Regions from separate parts of the Homo sapiens genome. Here region 1 is linked to region 2. The links are contacts of gene promoters, found by promoter capture Hi-C in blood cells and fetal thymus (Javierre and others, 2016). All regions are on one chromosome and are shown on one strand. Each heading gives the region's core, a stretch centred on a gene start or on the middle of the fragment in contact. The rest is flanking DNA. Distances are from core to core; before and after follow the strand shown.

The links. Contacts are between HindIII fragments. The CHiCAGO score rates a contact against its expected background, and 5 or more counts as called.
Region 1: a fragment that was not itself captured here is called in contact with the fragment with the promoter of GPR119 in region 2 in 7 of 17 cell types (naive B cells, total CD8 T cells, fetal thymus and 4 more); the score reaches 8.6 in naive B cells.

What each region holds. Positions count from the first base shown.
Region 1 is chrX:130,884,143-130,891,333 of GRCh38, forward strand. The region is part of intron 2 of ENOX2 (ecto-NOX disulfide-thiol exchanger 2); the gene reads right to left. Among named protein-coding and RNA genes, the nearest start is that of ENOX2, 15 kb to the right of the region's middle. The HindIII fragment of the contact is 158 bases long and covers 2,249-2,406 here.
Region 2 is chrX:130,380,311-130,387,034 of GRCh38, forward strand. GPR119 (G protein-coupled receptor 119) reads right to left here and starts at 5,364. Exons shown (of 2, transcript NM_178471.3): 1 at 4,126-5,364; 2 at 1-2,241. The coding sequence starts at 5,137. The coding sequence ends at 4,130. The HindIII fragment of the contact is 2,318 bases long and covers 3,340-5,657 here.

The DNA.
Region 1 (7,191 bases), core at 1,078-3,577, 500 kb after region 2:
TAAGTGTCAAATTCATTTAAGTCTAAAGAATGATAAAAGGGCTTCATATCATCCTCCTTTCTTTTTTGCCAGAAGGAAATAATATGAGGACAGATTTACTTTAAGACATGTTAAAATATAAAGATACCATCTTAGATAAGGGTAAATTCCAATTACATGGTATCTGAGATAATATATTCATTACCATCTTAAAGTCTCATAAACAGATTATAACAATACTTGCTCTATCTCTGGCCCATTTTCTTATCAACATTCTCAAATGTTCATTGTCAAATGCTGAAGAAGAGTTGTCTATGGCGTGAACATCGAGTCATTAATCTAGTACACGGGACAGTCTCTAATAAATTCAGATATAAAAATGGCCCCTTCAAGAATGTTTACTGAAGGGGTCCTAAAGAAAGTTTTACCAGAGAGCTTGTATGAGCCATTCAAGTAGTTGGGTTCATTTGATGAATTGATAATGTGGCTTTAAATAGTATTCCTTTCTTCAGTGGGACAAAAAGCATTTTTTCCCTTAAAACTAATTAATTTAAAATTGAGAAACCATTTGGAAATTTTAAAAGATAAGAATGCTGATCTATGAGAGAGAGAGAGAGAGAGAGAAAGAGAGACACAGAGACAGAGACAGACAGAAAGAAAGAAAAGTGTGAACCTGAATTAGCTGTATATTTTTTCTGCTGATCTGGACAAAATACTCAAATTTCAAAAACATATAGCACTTCACATTCATAGCCAGTATATCTTAAAATACATATACTTTCATGGAAACAATCTTATAAGTTCATCCAGTACAACAGTACAAACAAACTAGCTTTTTAGAAGAGAAAATACTCCATACTAACCTTTTGGAATAGACAACATTTTGCTTCCCCAAAATTTCACAAAGCTCTACTTTCATTCATATTGATGTACACATTAATCAAAACACTAGTGTTTCTTACACATCTGTAAAATTAATCTTGAAATCACACACATATTCAAATAAATGCTAGACTAAAAATAGTTTTGAAAACATCTCTAGCGTCCTATCCAAGAATACATTTTTCAGTAAATGACCAAATTTATCCTCCTTCTCTAGTAGCATAAGTCACATTTACCTGGCACCCATCAACCGAGAGGCAGCCTGATATCAGGGAGGAAAAAGCACAGATTCTTTAATCAGATAATGTAACCTGTAAGTTTAGGCTGCACTTAGATGGAGACCTCAGGCCAGTTACTCATCCTGAGTCTCAGTTTTCTTACCTATAAAATGGAGATCATATCACTGACCTCACACTTACTGAGAATGAACTAAGAAAGTATATATTAAATCACTGTCTAAATGTTTTATACCACATCCACTATCATTCAGTAACCAACAACTACACTAATATTGTAATTTTTAATAGAGTAAAACCATTAAGGAATTAAACATGTATTCACTATTAGCATACAAATAAAATACAGTCATAAAAGCCACCTAGTTAGATTTGAAATTATTCATTAGGTCACTGTGGAATTGAGAGCTGGCAAGGAGATAATGTCGTTTTTAAAATGTAAACATTTTTATTAGCAGAGAGAAGTTCTTCCCAGATATAGTAATTCCAGTAGCATAACAAAGTCCAGCATTTTTCATTGCCAGAAACTTAAACCAGTAACACTGGTCCATGAGAAATCTCTATTTATTCAACAAAGCAATATTTTCCATGTAAATCTATTTAATTTTATAGTGGAGAAAATAAGACAATCTCTGGTTTTAACCGTAAGAAAAAAGCCTCAACAACTTCTCACATTAAAATGTACACAGAAGGCTCTTCTAGAGTCAAGCATGCATTGGAATACAGAGAAAACATCCAGCAAGCACAACTTTCCAACACTTAGCAGAACCAACCAACCAATACTCAAAGAAGAAACTGAAGCTATAAATTCAAATAAATGGGCTGCAGGGAGACTACACAAACCTGCTGTTGCTTTAATTGCAGACAATTCAATTCAGCAGCTGTTGGTCCAGGCACTAAGGTTCACTGTATGCTCTTCAACGTAACCTTGAAATATTGTCACTCACTCACTTCTCCACATCATCTGCATGCTGTCCAATTAATGAGGAGCGAAATCAACTGTCAAACCACGCATCAAAATAGAACATGATCTTTTAGCTGTTAAGCGTAGGAGCATAATATTTTAAGAATAATAAAGCAACAATGGAGATGAAAGTCCTTGACAACAAATGATATTCAAACTTATCAAAACAACGTGGTTGTAGGAACTAAGCTTCTGTTCTGTGAAGCAAGAAAGTGAAACTTTCTCAGGGTTTTTCATTTGCAAGGGACCTTTCTGTCTAACTGCTGTGTAAGAAGCCTTTCAAAAAACATTCGCCCATACCTGATCAGAATCTTCTTCATTATTATGGACCATTATGTTTCTGAAAGCTTAAGAGAATACTTAAGAAACACTTTTGATCCAAGGATATTTTACAATACAGATGGTTTGGGGCTCGTATTTGTAGCTTTGCTGTTTCCAGCACTTTTTTTTTTCTGTCAGGAGAATAAACAAACAACAATAATATATAATGTTCATCAACCTGAGTTCAGTAATGAAAAATAACTAAATTTACCAAACAGATGTGTCCTGGAATGCTTCCTGTTTGAAGTTTCCCTACTCTTAGGTATATCCCAAATCTATACAACCAATTAACAAATACAGGAGTTAATAAACTCTAGAGAAACATAACACACTAAGTGTTTAAAAATTGCTTTTTGCTTCCAAAGCACTGTCTTCTGTGCAAACACTCTAAGCTATATCACATACTACCAGTTGCAGACATAAGACTTGAGAAATTCAATACAAGAATACAGCAGAGAAGCGTGCACAATTAAGGGATCGGGACTACCAGTTTAACAGAAAACGCAGATTTTATACAGCAATCTGCTACAAACATTATAGCTGGGGGCAGGCATGTTTTATGCAGCTATTTTGTTTAGCTCATTAGAACCCTATTTGTCCTTCAGTACAGTTGAACTGAAGGAAAAATAAAAGAAAGAAATGCACTTTGAAACAAAGGGGAAATTCAGATAAAACAAAACATACTATACCTGTATATTGTACCAGGAACATTGTGACACTCTTCAGGGAACTGTTTCACGTTGTATCCTATCGTGAGTTATTCTCTCCTTACCCTCTTCTCTCCACAAGAAGAAAAGCCAAAGCACCCCAAACCCCCACTATACCCTATCCCTAACCCACCCACCCCATTGAGGAAAAAGAAAAATAGCTATAATTCAGCTTAGATCTGACGCTTCTGTTTAGCTCAGCTCCAGCCGAGCAACTGAGCTTCAGCAACGGAGCATAGGGAGGAGGATTCTGATGCCAGTAGCACTTCCATCCACTTCACTTACACAAAAGCAGGCAGTGGAAAATCCAGGAGCCTTGAAGACAAGGGCTGGAACTGGCTTTTATGAATTGCTATTACTGCATGTGTCACCATCCATCTCCAATGACGGACACTTATAGGCTGAATTGGGAGTGGAGGGGGTGGGGTGGAGGAGGTTGGAGAGCAGGTGGAGAAGCAATTAGCAGTATGTTCATTGGAGAATTCGTTCGGGATTTCATACATCAGTGCCTAAAGAAACAGCATGCAGTTGACAAATCAGAACTTTACGATTTGCATGCCTTGGAAGAAATCTTAGCTCACAGCTCCAAACAAAATAATGTTTGCCCACTCTTACAGGGCACAGAAAGTCACCCCTTTGCTTTTTCTTTCCTCTGGCTACCCTTATTCCTGAGAAATCAACATTCAGAATGAATATTTGCTAATTTTCCCTAAAGAATTGTATTTTTAAAAGGCTGGAAGCAAAGGAAGTATAAAGAAATTAAATTCTATTGAACATGACATCTCTTAACACAAAGGCAAGAAGCTAATTATTTTAAGGCAATTCTTCATCCCTAGTCCCATTCCCCAAGCGCAGCTTTCACACCTATAATCAGTGGATCACACAACTTTTGTCCATATATTTAACACTGAAAAACAAATCTATGTCTACCTAAAAATAGTTCAGTTAAAATGAAGGTGAAAAGCCAAGAGCTATGTGCAGGACCCACTTCATTAGGTGACTTGAGAAAGCACTTTACATGTAAGTGCTTCAGTTTTACTCATCCACTAAACTAAAGCTCATTTTTAGACGGATTTTAAAATTAATCACGAGTAGGAACAAAAAGGAGATAGTGTCTTTGGGAGGAAACATGATACAACCGAAGGAGCACTGGGGCTGGGTATCAGGAAACCTGGGTTCAGCTTCCAGTTCTACAACTTTCTAACTATGTGACTCTGGCCAAGTCACTTAACTTCTTTGAGCCTAAGTTCCCTTTATTTGTTAACTGGAGATAATAGTACCTATCCTGACTGTCTCACAGGATTGCTGTGAACAGCTAATGAGATAATAGGTATGAAAACCCTTTTGTAAATTGTAAAGGGTTATACAATTGTATGGGATTATTACTACCATGCCCTAAACAAATCTTGCCTTAATGATTGAAGTGAGGCACCTCTATCACATAAGGCAAATAAAAAGAAAGAACTAATATAATTTCATGAAACACTGCTCAATTCTTACAATTTTTAAATTAGACGGAATCGCTGTTTGCTCTTAAAATTCTATAGCAGGGAACGTTTTTGAGAAAATTTTAAAATAATACATCAAAAGTTTATTAAAGAGACTGGAGCCCTCTAAATTCTCTCTTTCCTTTCTGGAAAGTCAGTCCATTTTTCTTCATATGGTCTAGCATTATGTCCCATCTGGAATGCAAACTACTAGATAATGAGCATCTCCTTTTGTTCAAGCTTTCTATTTGCCTGTTACATCCTCATTGCCCAGTGTGTTGGGGGAGGATTCAAGGTGATTAACTAAATCTAAATCCACAAGGTAAAAATCCAAAGTTATGCTTTATGAGGCTCCAAGCTGCCTTGATCCTATGTATACAGTGACCAGCTGGCTTCAGCTGGGACACAATTTTAGCACATGAAGTCCTGGGGTGGCCACACCTGGGGCACTAAATGATCCAGGCAATGTTTGGGGATCTTTGGTTCAGCCAAATCCCACATGTCCTGATTTCCATCTGTATGGTGGTTCCCAAGTGTGTTTGTCCACATGAACCAAATCTGAAGCAGCCAAAAGAAAGGTGGGGGATAGAGCAGGGATATCAGATGTCAGCTCCTCTTGGTCCCATCCAGTGCTATCTGTGCCCTCAAACAAGTGCCCATCCTACTTCTTGTAAGAAGAAAGAAAACTTTTTCTAATTGCCCCTTTGAACGTCATTGCTACTACTGAAGATGCCAGTAAAATATATATCCAAAATCTATGTTAAGCCAATTGGGAAAAGGATAATATTAATCACATAACAGGTAATTGGTAGCTAAGAGCAAGTGAGCTGCTGAAAGGGGGAAGGGGAGAAAAAGACAAGAGAGGAGGAGGGAAACAGAGGGGAGGGGTGGAGAAAAGAGAAAATGAATCTAAAGTGAGAGCTTTCTAATCAGAAACATACTTGCTGAAATCATCCAAAGTCTCACCTACTATAATAAAAAGTGCTTGTCTTTTGAGGTATTGGGAGTGGCCCCCTAACCATCAAAGCTGCAAACCTAGCCTTCCAACTGCTTAGGGAAACAGTCAAGAGCCTGAAAAGGTACTGACAGCCCTAGCACCAGATCTCACTTTCCTCTGCCATTCAGAAAGTGAGTCAGGTGGGATACAATTCTCCAGAGGCCTCATCCCTGCTACCGTCCACCACAGCCTCACTGGCAGCATGGCTGCCCACTAAGGAAGGTGTCAGTCCAATTTCAGGTTCAGCAAAGGAGGCTTGCCTGTGACTTTTAAAACCACATTGGTAAGAAAGGAACAAAGGCTGTATTTCAGAATAGGACTGTTCTCCCTTTGGGCATTGCAACTAAACTCCTTCACAAATTTAAGCTTGAAATTCATATTCCCCAAGTTCCTCAGAAGGGCCATTCAAAGTAAAGGGAAAGGACAGGAAAGATGATTTTTTTTTTGTTAGCTTCTTTCTGACAGTCAAAAAATGAGGAATATGACTGACAGAGTGTCCCAAAAGGCAATGAGGTGGGAGGCAGTAGTTTCAACCCAGGTTAGCAAGAAGGGCAATGAAAGCATCCTTATAAAAACAAACACGCATACCAAAAACCATTGCACTGTTTCCATTATCCCGATTTCAAGCTCCAGAATGTAAGCACTAATGGTTCCCTAAACCACCCAAGCTCCTCCTCGGCAGCCGTCACCAAGCCTGACTGATTTTTTTCAAATGAATTTCCATCACTAGCCACCCCAGATTCTGAGTATTTTTGTCAAAAACAAAAGTCCTAGTGGAAGATTTCAAAGAACTAAGAACTTGAACCAAACCATGAACTTAAACGGGAAGACACAGAACTAATTTGCTAAATTCCAAACAAAACAGAAATTGTAACAGTTTGAAAGCAACAAAAACTAGCAAGCTGATTTGAACCAGAACAAAGTTTCATGTTTTCTGAATCAATCAAACTTGCACCAAACCCTGAGAGTCTAATCAGCTCAAGCTCCTGCAAAGAACACACAGCAAGGTTTGGTTTCACCTGTCTGAAAGCTGACAAGGGAACCACAGAATGAACACTGGATAAGGAGTCAGAAGAACTGACGTCTCCTGATTTTCTTCACTGTTTGATCTTGGTCAAGTCACTTCTACTCTCTTAGCCTCAGCTTGCTTGCCATGAAATGGCCAGGCTGGGATTGCCAATATCCCAATATCCCAGTTTTAATAGTCTATGCCAACTGTGGAATTTAGTCTAGTGATGAAACAGATAAAGTCACAATTTAGCCTTAATCTGCAGGAGGCAGAGAGATGGACCACCCCAACTCTTTTAAGGATTCATGTTTCTAGCTTATTTTGAAATATACTTGGCCGGGCATGGTGGCTCACACCAATAATCCTAGTACTTTGGGAGGCCCAGGTGGGAGGATCACTTAACCTCAGGAGTTCAAGACCAGCCTGGGCAAGAGAGTGAGATCCCACCTCTTAAATAAATAAATAAATAAAATTTTAAAAAGTTTTTTTTTTAAAAGAAATACACTTCATTTAAGAGTTGGTAACTGTCCTTGTTCAGCCTCAGAAATAACCTAATATACTTTTTCAGAATGTCTCTCCTCAAAAAAATGTTTCAGGAATAGTTTGTTT
Region 2 (6,724 bases), core at 4,114-6,613:
TTCTCCTTCTAGGGAGAAGATATCCCAAGGCTATCTCTGGCTGACACTGGACATATGGACAAGCAGGAGTGTGTTGGTCAGGGTAACCTGCCTCTAACACTTGTGAAACCACTTAAAACACCTCTGTACAGAGGCCTACAGTGTCCTTATGTTCTTTGAGAATAGTCCTCTGAAATTGAGGTGTTGATATGTATAACCTTTCCTACCTAAGGAATTAATATAAAACTTAGTCATGTTACAATTTTAATTACAAATTCAGCCTGGTGCAGTGGCTTCCTCCTGTAATCACAGCACATTGAAAGGCTGAGGTGGGAGCATCACTCAAGACTATCATGAACAACATAGGGAGACCCTGTCTCTACAAAATATAAATAAATTAGCTGGGCATGGTGGCATGTGCCTGTGGTCCCAGTTACTCAGGAAGCTGAGGTGGGAAGATTGCTTGAGTCTGGGAAGTTGAAGCTACAGTGAGCTATGATCGCACCACTGCACTCCAGCCTGGGTGATGAGCGAGACCCTGTCTCTTAAAACAAAAACACCACAAATTCACAGTAAGCTGTTCATGGAAATAATAAATGGGACTGATTGGCCTACATTGCATCCTACAAGGTATTAATATCTGGGATGTTTTGATCACCTTGCTGAACTGAATCTGGTTTCTTGGTAAGCCTATCAGGAAACAACATCAGATGTATGAATGAAATCTAAACGTTTCCGGTACATTCCCTTATCTGTGAAGGAGCTTGCATCAAAGAAAGCCATTAGACTTTTGTGTAGCATCCTGTAGCTCTGCTCTTGGTGGCTTATTAAACACAGTGTTGTTGCTGTTTTTTTTTTTGTTTGTTTGTTTGTTTTTTTGAGACGGAGTCTCACTCTGTTGCCCAGGCTGGAGTGCAGTGGCGCGACCTTGGCTCACTGCAACCTCTGCCGCCCAGGTTCAAGCGATTTTCCTGCCTTAGCCTCTTGAGTAGCTGGGATTACAGGCGCCTGCCATCGTGCCCAGCTAATTTTTGTATTTTTAGTAGAGACAGCTTTTCACCATATTGGTCAGGCTGGTCTTGAACCCCTGACCTCGTGATCCACCTGCCTCAGCCTCCCAACATGCTGGGATTACAGGCGTGAGCCACCATGCCTGGCCAAACACAGTGTTTTTAATTGTGATTACTCTTAAATCCAATTACCATACTAGTGCCAGTGCCTTGTTTGTATCCGCTCTGTCTTGATACTGCTAAGGTATTAGATTTATTGTTTGTCTTTTTCAACCTGAATCACCTCTCATCACTCATTTTTAAAAATCTTATTCAGAGGTTGAGGAATTTACAGTTCTGAGTCCAATTGTCCTTGTCCTATATGTCATAATATCTGAATATGAGGGACTCCCTTAAATGGGTCAACTGACTGTTTAGTCCAGGGTGTTTAAAGAAGAGGAAGAGAACTGACATTTTTGAGCACTAACAATGTGCTGTAGTTTACTAGATATTTACATATACATTATCTGAGTTAATCTTCAATATAACCATGTAAAGTAGGCATTATTACCCCGGTTTGATGAATGCGAGATCTAGTTTGAGAATTTAAATGACTGAATTATCATTTGAACACTGGTCTGTTGGATTTCAAGACCTGTGATTTTTCCATTGCACATACTGACTCCCAGGGGTAGCAGAGTTTCTTAGATTGAACCTAATAACACACTGATCACCTGGCCTCTCCTCCCCTCCTGCTTTTCTGTACTTAAAAATATATATATTTTTTATTTTTAATTGACAAATAATTGTATATATTACGTGGGGTACAATGTGATGTTGATATATGTTTAAAATGTGGAATGATTAAATCAGGCTAATTTACTTTTTTTTTTCTAAAAGGACCTTGGCTTCAGAATTAACTTTAATTTTCATTCCACTTTGCTTATATTATCTTGGCAAGATCAGTCCTTTGTAGCAAGGCCAGGATTTAAGCTTTGAACCACCAGTAAGGAGGGCATTGGTTTGAGCCTGCTTTCAATTTTGTCCAAAATCCAGTTATTCGTATTTTACCTAGTTCCCAGTAACTCACAATACAATCCAAGAATGTGCCTTATTGCTGGCCTGGTACTTGCTGGATGCTCAGCATTTCAAGGCATATTGGGTTCCATCGTCCACTTGAGAGTCAAAAAGTTCTTCAGTTGTAGGAACACGATGCTTGCTATGGTGAAAGCAAGCATGTTTCTCCTCTGGGCCAGACTGGTAAGCAAAGCGACTGCAAAAAATTTACCAAAAGTGGGTTGATGTGTATGTAGTAGAATAGATCAATGAGAAACAGCCATTTGGGCTGAAGAAGATATAGGGTGAAGGTAGGGAGAAGGAAATTTTCTCAAGAGTAGGGAAACTGAAAAGGATGATCATTATCCTCTGAATGACTGAGGAAAGTAAGCTGGGAGTTAATCTAAGACTAAGGGGAATTAAGAAAATCCGAGTGCAAAGCATAGTGGTGTGGTGACATCCTTTGAAAGGAGGGTGGCTGGATTCCATCCAGGTCTAAACATTATAATTTGTGATTAGAATGAAAAATTTCAAGGGCCTCTTGGAATTAGCCATTACACGTTGGATTCAAATGCATCCTCAGGTCATTAATTTAGGGATATTGAGGGATTAACCAACCTAAGGTTGGTACCTAATTTGGTACCTAATTCAGTACCAAATCCTAGGCAAGTTAATCCATACTGTTTTGGTTTCTTCTTGCCCTCTTTTGTTGTCAACTTGGCAGCTTTCTGGGGCAATATTACAGTTTAAGGTCTTGAGAGCCAAACTCTCTAGCAATCCACTGTGGAGACCAGGAGGTTTTGGAGAGGGTTACAGGGAAACTCAGAAAGGCAGAGAGTGGTTCCTGAGTGTCTTCGCTATTCTGTTCTTGGTTTTTTGCTGCCAGGTTGCCCAGAGGGAAACTGAGCATAGTTCCCATCTGCCAACCTTGTCATTTTCTGTACCCCACGGAAAGGAGGATGAGGCACCTGCTCCTCAGCTGGTCTCCTGTGCAACAGTTTCTTAGGAAAATGCAAAATTGGGAGTAAGTGGAAGGAGCCCTGAGGAGCAAAGTGGCTCCAGTCTGGAGAGCTTGGCTGTGCCTGCCTTGGTACCCACATGTTTTCTCTCTCTTCCCTCCCAGTGCCTCAGAATTTGTGATCCAGCATTGTCATCAGCAAGTAGCCACAAGTGACATATGAGGCCATCTTAAGGGAAGGGGCAGCAGAGAGTTAAAAGGTGGTGGATTGGGACCGGTAACAGCAGAAATAATCACAAGATAGTGTTTCTTTGGGAAATAACCTATTTTAAACATCATGAGGTGTGCGAAAAGACAAGCTTTAGAGGAATTGAGGTTTCTACCTTTTAGGCACATTCACCATATAAGATCTCTGATTAATATCAGTAAGGGCAGGAGGAGGAGGGACTCCTCACCTTGCCAAAGCAATTACTGTAGTAAGTCACTATAGTAAACACTTAAAAATAACAGAACCTCATTTCTCTAGTGTTGTTCAGTATGGGAGCCACTAGCCACATGTGGCTACTGAGCATTTGAAATATGGCTAGTTTAAATTGAGATGTTTTGTAAGGGCAAAATACACACCAGATCTCAAGGACTTAGTATGAAAAAAAAACCAGTATAATTTTTATATTGATGACATGTTGAAAACAATATATTGGTTACGTTGGGATAAATAAAATATTAGTTTTGCCTGTTTCTTTTTACCTTTATAAAACGGTTACTGGAACATGTAAAATTATGCGTGTGGCTCACATTATATTTCTGTTGGACAGTGCTGCTCTGGTATACTCAAAAATAGAATTTGATCTATAAGCATCTTTTTAGCAGTACATTTCTTGCTTTAAGTAAGTGTACCTGTACACCAGAGACAGGCTCATTTCAAAAGAAGGACAGGGAGGAGTGGCGATTTGAAAATGGGGAAACTGATTATAGAAGAAAGTCAGGACTCTGCCTCAGTTACCTGTCAGTCTGGGGGTGGGGGATGCTGGGACAGGGGTCAATTGCCTGAAGCAAGTGCTCTCATCCCCCTAGCTCCTGCTGATCTAGTTGGGGCTCCAGAGTGGGGAGGAGAAAGGCACTTTGAAACTTCTCTGCCCTTACCGTCTTAGCCATCAAACTCTGAGCTGGAGATAGTGACGATGTGACAGGAACTTTCCCTGGGCCTCTCTGGGCCACAATTCCTGGCCGAGAGAAAGAGGAGGAATGAGGTGAGCACCTTCTTCACTCCTAGGGCCATGTGGTAGAGCTGCAGTCGCACCTCCTTCTGCCAATAGGCATAGATGAGTGGGTTGAGCAGGGAGTTGCCCACGCCGAGCAGCCACAGGTACCGTTCCAGCACTAGGTAGAGGTGACACTCCTGGCAGGCCACCTGCACAATGCCAGTGATAAGGAAGGGGGTCCAGGATAGAGCAAAGCTCCCAATGAGAACAGACACAGTACGGAGAGCTTTGAAGTCGCTGGGAGTCCGTGGGGATCGATAACCTCCAGCCATGGCTCCTGCATGTTCCATCTTTCGAATCTGCTGGCTGTGCATGGAGGCAATCTTGAGCATGTCGCAGTAGAAGAAGACAAAGAGGAGCATGGCTGGGAAGAAGCCAACGCAGGAGAGGGTCAGCACGAAGTGAGGGTGAAATACAGCAAAGAAGCTGCACTGCCCTTTGTAGGCAGTCTGCTGGAACATGGGGATTCCGAGTGGGAGGAAGCCAATGAGGTAAGACACTAACCACAGCCCGGCAATGCAGGCCCCGGCCACGAACCCACTCATGATCTTCAAGTAGCGGAAGGGCTGCTTGATGGCAAGGTACCTGTCAAAGGTGATCAGCATGACCGTGAGGACAGAGGCAGCTGCGGAGGAAGTGACAAATGCCATCCGCAGGCTGCACAGGGTCTTCTGTGTGGGCCGAGAAGGGCTGGAGAGCTGGTCTGTGAGTAGGCCAGAGATGGCCACACCAATCAAGGTGTCAGCCACAGCCAGATTCAAGGTGAAGCAGAGACTGACACCATCATTCTTGTGGATCAACAGCAGCACAGCCACAGCCACTAGTGTGTTAGTAGCAATGATGAGGGAGGCCAGGACAGCAAGGATCACTCCAAATGAGAAAGATGATTCCATGTCTCGAAGTGGCAGGACTTCACTTACCAGGGCATGCTATCTCTCCAGCTGAAATTCTCATGGGCCAGGGGCAGAGGAGCTGTGGGTTCAGAGCTACAGCACGATTCTGGCCTTCGCTGGCAGTCCAGGCTGGCAGGTCGCCATCTTTGGGATCCTACAGGTCATGAAGAATTACTCACCCTCTCTTTTCAGTCCTCAGCCTCCTGCCTCTCCAGCTCTCTAAAGGCAGCAACTTCAGTATAGACCTCCCCCTGGGCCCTGAGCTAGTCCCTCCCCCTCCAACCAGCAAGTTACTAGACAACTCCCAAGTACCTGTACATGCTGTCTCGCCAGGCCCTCTCCCTTCACTGGTGCTTCAGGGACTCTGGAGGGACAGGGACATTCATCAGGTCTCCTGTCTGTCAAAAGATATAATTGACTCCAATCATACTTTTTTCTTCCTCCATACCTTGACATTAAATTTCTACTTTTCTTCCAAAACCTCGAGTACCAGCTTAAATAATTAATCTCAGCTTAATTAAGCTTTTTCTTACTAATTCTCAATTACTATTATGAATTGCTTTTAATCAAGCAAGATGCTCATAATCAGTTGAAGTGGGAAGTGAGGGAAGGTGAGCTTTTTGAGGGGCCCCAGCATATTTTCAGGAGTGCTACCACACATTTAAGCTGTTTCTTACCTTTTGCTTCCTAGCGCCTCAAATTCTAATTCTCTCAAGTAGGGCGTGCTGTTCCCCCGTTTCTCATCCCTAGGATCTCAGTTGAGGATTCAGGACAGGAAAAACAGGGCCAAAAACTGTTAACAGCTGTCATTCAGTTTAGAACCCATTCTCCACCTCACGCTGCTGTCTCTCAAGTATACTAATTGATAATTATTTCTGCAGCATGTTGGGCCAGGTCTGGTCAGTGAGTAGTGGCTGCTGGGCTTGCCTTTCTTAATCCTATAGACCTGAGGTATCTCTGCGGGAGGAGAAGAGGAGATGAGCTGCATTCTGGGAAGTGTCTGCTTGATGTTTGGCTATGGAATTTTCCATTTTCCAGGAATAGGAACGTGGGGGCGGTTGAGGGGGGGAGGTTAGACCAAAGGGCAACTGTGTTGCTGAAGCAGGTGAGATGCACTCTGGAGGGGCAGCTGCATAAGTCACTCCTGTTTTAGGATGTGTATCCATTTGCTTGGGTACATTAGAACTACCCTTTCGCCTGCCACTCTCATCTTGGATACCAAGAAGAGAGGGGTGGGGAGAAGAGTGGTTAGAAGCTTATTTACTCAGTTCAGGTGAGAGCACAAATGGGAAAGGTTAGTGTTTGAAGTGAGGGAATAGAGAGCAAGGTGCAGAGTTGGACGCAAATATATTCCAGGATGTTTTGACAGTCTGAGAGGGCCTTTGGCAGATGTCTCTCCTAAAAAAGGATCAGAAAGACTGTGTTGTGGGGATTCAGTATTCTAGTTGCCATCCTGAAAACAGTTCTTATTCTTTGGTATGTCCATTAGGAGATTGATTCCAGTTGCTTAGAACCTAGCCTAATTTTATACCTGGACCTAAGGTGTGCTTGGGTTTCCCCAGCTCTTGACTCCACGGAGTCAAGTTA